2 separate regions of the Homo sapiens genome follow, and region 2 is linked to region 1. Evidence: promoter capture Hi-C in human tissues and cell types (Jung and others, 2019). All regions are on one chromosome and are shown on one strand. Each heading gives the region's core, a stretch centred on a gene start or on the middle of the fragment in contact. The rest is flanking DNA. Distances are from core to core; before and after follow the strand shown.

What was found. Contacts are between HindIII fragments. The study calls those that stand out against the background at their distance.
Region 2: a contact is called between a fragment that was not itself captured here and the fragment with the promoter of TMEM200C in region 1, in 3 of the 25 tissues and cell types used here (H1 embryonic stem cells, mesendoderm cells and thymus).

What each region holds. Positions count from the first base shown.
Region 1 is chr18:5,894,241-5,896,940 of GRCh38, forward strand. It overlaps TMEM200C (transmembrane protein 200C), which reads right to left and starts at 1,282. Exons shown (of 2, transcript NM_001395400.1): 1 at 790-1,282. The region is part of intron 9 of MIR3976HG (MIR3976 host gene); the gene reads left to right. It overlaps LOC121725015 (a long non-coding RNA gene), which reads left to right and starts at 1,487. Exons shown (of 3, transcript NR_172505.1): 1 at 1,487-1,846. The HindIII fragment of the contact is 12,914 bases long and covers 1-2,700 here.
Region 2 is chr18:5,999,183-6,001,882 of GRCh38, forward strand. The region is part of intron 16 of L3MBTL4 (L3MBTL histone methyl-lysine binding protein 4); the gene reads right to left. Among named protein-coding and RNA genes, the nearest start is that of TMEM200C, 110 kb to the left of the region's middle. The HindIII fragment of the contact is 4,141 bases long and covers 1-2,700 here.

The DNA of each region.
Region 1 (2,700 bases), core at 32-2,531:
GAATGTAAGGAAGGTTGGAATGGATTTCAACAGTCCTTTACCGCACATCTTTAAAATGAGTTTAATAGCTAGTAATTAACTCCCTCGTTTATTATTCCTTCAGCTCTGTTGAAGGCTGTACTCCCTTTTAATGTATCATCATCTGACACGAAATACAGACAAAGGTCAGATGCCACGGGAGACCCACCTTTGAGGTTTTCCTTTATACCTAATGAAAGAAAACAAACTTAGCAGTCAAGCTTGGCTGCCCTCGCAATTTACTGCCTGGAGCTGGTCTTACCGTGGTTAAAGAATGGAGGATGGGGGAAGCAAAGGAGGGATGTCTAAAAATACAACTGCTTCCAAGAGAGACATTCAAGTTCTCCGCTCAAGATGGATTAAGCCCCACTCTGAGGCTCGGAGGCTCGGATCCCACAGGCTGGGAGCGCTGTGCTGTGCCCGGTACCCAACCCAGGTCCTCGACCCCGGCCCCTCACTGGCAGGGCGGCGACCCCCTGGCCCCTGGCTTTGGTCTGCTTATTGATGTTAGCTGGAGTCACATGAGTGCAGCAGCTGGGAGTCCGCCTCTGGAAAGAAGACAGGCAGGAGCCAAGTGAGGGCAATCCTGAACTAGCTTTTTCTGGGCAGCGCATCCCGTGTAGCCAGCCCGGGAAAAAGCCTCTCACCGAACACCAGCCCGGGGCGCGGGGACTCGGGGACCCGAGGGGCGGGGAGGGGCCCCCAAGGGCTGGGGACTGGCAGAATTGCTCAAAATGGCAGCACTCTCCGCACGCAAGATCGCTCACTTACCCAGGGAGACCGAGGGAGGTCGGGGCCGGCGAACGGGCGCTCGGGCGACACAAAGGAACCATGGAGAAACTTTTTCAGCCCGAGCCGACGGCGGAGCGCAGGGACAGCGCCCCGGGGCCCCGCATCCGAGCGCGACTCAGCAGCCCCGCGGGGGCGAGCGCCCGCCCCAGGCTCGCAGTCCCCGCCGGCGCTGTGGCGGGAGCCATTTCCAAGAGTTTCCAAGAAGTGTCAGGTCCTCCGCATCCCGCATCCCGCATCCCGCCTCGGAGCCCTCCTCTCCGCCGCTCATCCTCCAGCTCCCGGCGTCCCCTAGCGCGGCGCTCCCGGGCGGGCCCCTGCGGCCGCGCCGCCGGCCCTCGCGCCTCTTTTGTGTGGCTGCGGCGCGCCGGGCTCCGCCGGGTGGAGTTGAGCCCGCGGCGGCGGCTCGGGGCGGCCGGACTGGCGGCTGTTGCTAAGAGACCGGAGCCATGACACAGGGAAATTGCGGCAGGGTGGCGGTCGGGGCCCGCCCGGCTCGGCGGAGTCGGGGGGCGCCCCCGCCCCCGCCCCCCGCCCCACCCCCTCCTCCGGCGCCCCCCCCCACGCCGCCGGCCTTCCCCGCTCCCCCGCGTCCTCCGCCGCCCGCCGCCCGTCCCTTCGGAAGCGCCGATTCCTCGGGGAGGAGGAGGCGTGAGGGGAGGCGGCGGAGGCAGCCGGCACGGGGCGCTCGGGCCGCGGGGCAGGGGGCGCGGGGTGCCTCCTCGGCCTCGGCTCTCCCCGCCCCGGGGCGCCCCGAGACCGCCGCCTGCCTCCGCGGGCAGCTTTGTTCTTCTTTCCTCCAACTACCTGTCTGAGCCGCGGGCCCCAGAGGCCCCAAAGAGAGGCCCGGAGGGTCTCCCCAGCAGCATCCGAGGGGCGCTCTCGGGGAGCTAGGGGCCAGAGTCCGCGGTCCCTCCGTGCCTGCCTCCCTCCCCTCGTGCCTCGGTCTTTTGTTGCCTCTACTCCTCGGCACGGCGCAGCCTGGGCTCTCTTCCCCCTCCCGCTTGGGAGTTTGCAGTGTGGACGCTCGGCAAGCACAGTAAGTTGTCCCCCAGCGAACTCGGGCCCGGGCGGAGTGGAGCCGCCCCCGCCGGGACGGGCGCACCGCGGGACGCTTGGAAGCCTCTGCCAGATGCGCTCGCGCTCCAGCCCCGCCGGGCTTTGTGACCAGCCTGACCGGGACCCGGCAGCTGGGGCTCCTCGGAGATCAGAATGGGCTCCGGGGCTCTTCCTTGGGCAGCCCCTCCTGCTCCTCCCCGGTGCGGTAATCAGCAAGCATTAAAAGGAAAACTATAATTCTCCAGGAATCAGGAATCAGGGTTGGAATCAGAGAGGGGAGGTGGGGGTAGGGAGGATGTCCAAACTCCCTACGTCATTTAAAAAAGAGAGAAGGCGAGAGAGAGAGAGAAAGAGATCGAGATCCTGTTTCCTAGTTCATCCCTGTCTTCTCAACTGTAAAGTAAAAATGACAGGGAAAAGAGAATTTCAAAGTGGAATTTCCCCAAAGAGTATTGAGAAAGTGAGAAAGATTTCATTTATCTATTGAAATGAGGCAGCCAGGATTCAGGAAGAAAGGAACAGAAGAGCAGATGAAGCAAGTGCTGTCTGAAATTTTGGATCCAGATAAATATTTTGGTGGTGGTGGGTGTTATATATTCTGAGTTTTGCTGCTTAGGGGTCCACAAAACCCACACAGGAGGGCTCTGCTGCCCGCAGCTCCTGTTACAAGATTGTTCCCCACATACACAGCATTCACTTGTGCTTAAATCTAGAGCAGACACTTTTCAAAAAGAACAATAAAGACAACCAATTTACAAGTTCAATGATATAAATGTGAACAGTGATCTAAGAGATGGGGATAGAGACGGTGGGGGACAGGAGGGAACGAAGCAG
Region 2 (2,700 bases), core at 86-2,585, 100 kb after region 1:
CTGCTTTTGATTATCAAATCTGCCTAGCAGAAACATTTTTCTCATATTTATATTTATTGAAATTCCACCCACTATTTATGGCCTAGTTCAGATGCTATCTTCTCCTGAAAATGTCTGATTCCCACAAAGAGAATCAATTGGTTTCCCTCTTCCAAATGTCTTGGTTTGAGGTTGCAAAGCAGCACTTACCCTATGCTACCCTGTAACTGTAATAGCTGTTTCCACCTTTATGCCCCCACCAAGGAAGGGCTCACTCTTTCTTCTGAGCACGCCCTACCTTCCTCAGAGTGTGCTGTGCTTCATAAAAATGTGTTGAATGGAATGAAAGAAAAGAACATGTTTTTCTATTAAAGTCATTTTAAACATGCTAATCAGCAAGGAATATGGCTGTGAGCATTTCTCCTCATCCTCCTAGAATCATACAAAAACAAACAACGAAGAAAATAAAGGAAACACCATAAATTCCATTTTCAGTGAAACTAGAAGGCAGATAAATTCCCTAGATTCAATATATCTGTAAAAAGGGCCAGAAGCAACTGTGATTGGCTAGAAGATATGCAGGGGAAGGGAAGAAAAGAAGGGCTGAGTGGTGGCCGATCTCCTGGGTGGCCACTGCCAGAATGCAAAGGCACATTCCTTGCTTGTACAAATGGGGACAGGACCTTGGGTGAGCAGGGTTGGTATAAAAGAAGCCCTACTGGACTTAGTTTTGTTCAAGGAGTTAGAGTTTTCAGGGCTACACAGAGAATAGTCCAGAGGAGCCATGTTTGCAGGAAGCACTCTGTCTCAGTGTCAGGCAAGAGAGAGAAACCTTTTAGTTGGAAAGCCTAGCCCTCATTTCCTGTCAATATAGATGTGTGTGAATAGTTAGTTCAGGAAAATTGAACTCATTAAGTAATGAGTGAGCTCAGAAAAAAGAAAGAAGAAAAAGAAAAAAAAATGATATGGTGTTGTTATAAAGATGCCATGAGAAAAATGTGAATGAGACCAGTAAAATCTATTAAATTTTTAAAATGTATCCATAAAAATATTGCCACTGAGGAGATGAAAGAGTGATCAGACATTCTGACATGTTTGGAAACACAAAATAAAGCTTAGTGAGGCAATTATCTCTAGGAAGGAAGAAAATAAAGTAGAAATGTGACAATTCGAGGAAGAGACAGCAAGTCAATAAAAGGCAATGCAGAACTCCAGAAAGAAGTAGAGGAGAAAAATAAAACCATTACAGGAATAGAGATGGAACTCGAAGGAGCAGAAAGGGAGAATGGACCTTGCATAACCCGGAGTCAGGATTATACTCATAAAAGATAAAAATGAGAAAGTCAAGCAAAATGAAATTTAAATTTAAAAAGAACTTAAAAAACATTAGAGAAGGTGATTCAACACATACATAATTAGTGTGTCTGAGGAAAAATCAAAACAATGAAACAGAGCAAATATTTAAATATATAATAAAAACAACCCTTTCCTAAATCTATATATGTGAATGTACTTGAATCTATATATCATAAGGGCATACCATGTGCCACATTCAGTGAATTGGAATGCAATAACAAGACCTATCTTAGTAAAGTTTTTGGAGCTTAAAGATAAACACTCATTACAGCATCCAGTCAAGCATCACATATTGTCTCAAAACTTTCAAAAACAAAGGACAGGAGTGATGTTAGGGAAGATGGTGGGTAGGAAGTGCCAGGAATCTGTCTCTCTGCCTAGACAACAATTGCACTGGCAGAATCTGACTGATAGAACTATTTTGGATCTCTGGAGTCTTGCAGCTTCCGGAGGTCAGCTTAGATGGTGGTAAATCATGGCTAATTTTGGTCAATTTCAGCTCTTAGAACAGTAGCAACTACTCACTTCCCATCCTCCAGCCCTGTGGCAGGCAGCTGTGCCAACAATCTGGGTGCAACTTGCATGTGGCTTTCAAGAACCAGGGTGGGCAATAAGTACCTTGTCCTCCAAATATTGAGGATCTGTGTCCTCATAACTGACTATGAAGGTGCAGGCCAGAGGCCTTTATAGCAATCCCCATTGCCTAAAGTGGCTTCCAGGGTATGTGAAGATAATTGCCTTAAAAAAATTTCCGTCCAGTTTTCCCCTTCTGGGGAGCCAAACATTTAAGGATTAGCACATTTAAAAGCAATAACATATACAAGGGAATTTAGTAAGTCACCATGCACGACCAAGGAAAGCAGTGGGCTCAGAAATGACCTGAGAAGACCTTAAGTTTACACCTCATGCTGATGTCTGGCATGGAGCTACCATAAAACAATTAAAAAACCCCAAACAAACAAAAACCAAAATCAGAAGCAGCAAACCCTGGGGAAGGCGGGGAATCTGATTAATAGAGATACTATATTATGAGATTCAAATGGTCAGTTTCAACAACAAAAAAATACGTGGTATATGAAAACAGGAAAGTATGACCCACTCAAAGGAAAAAAATCAACAGAAAAATAACTAGAATGAAAAATTCACTAGAGGGATACTAAAGCAGATTTGAGTAGAAGTAAGAATTAGTGAATTTGAAGATAAGACAATTGAAATTGAGTATGAGGAATATAAAGCAGTAAGATTAAAGAAAAGTGAAGAGTCTAAGGGATCTGTAGGACAGCATAAGCAGACCAATATACACATTGCAGGAGTTTCTGAAGGAAAAAAGAGAGGGAGCAAAGAGCACAGAGACAATTTGGAGAA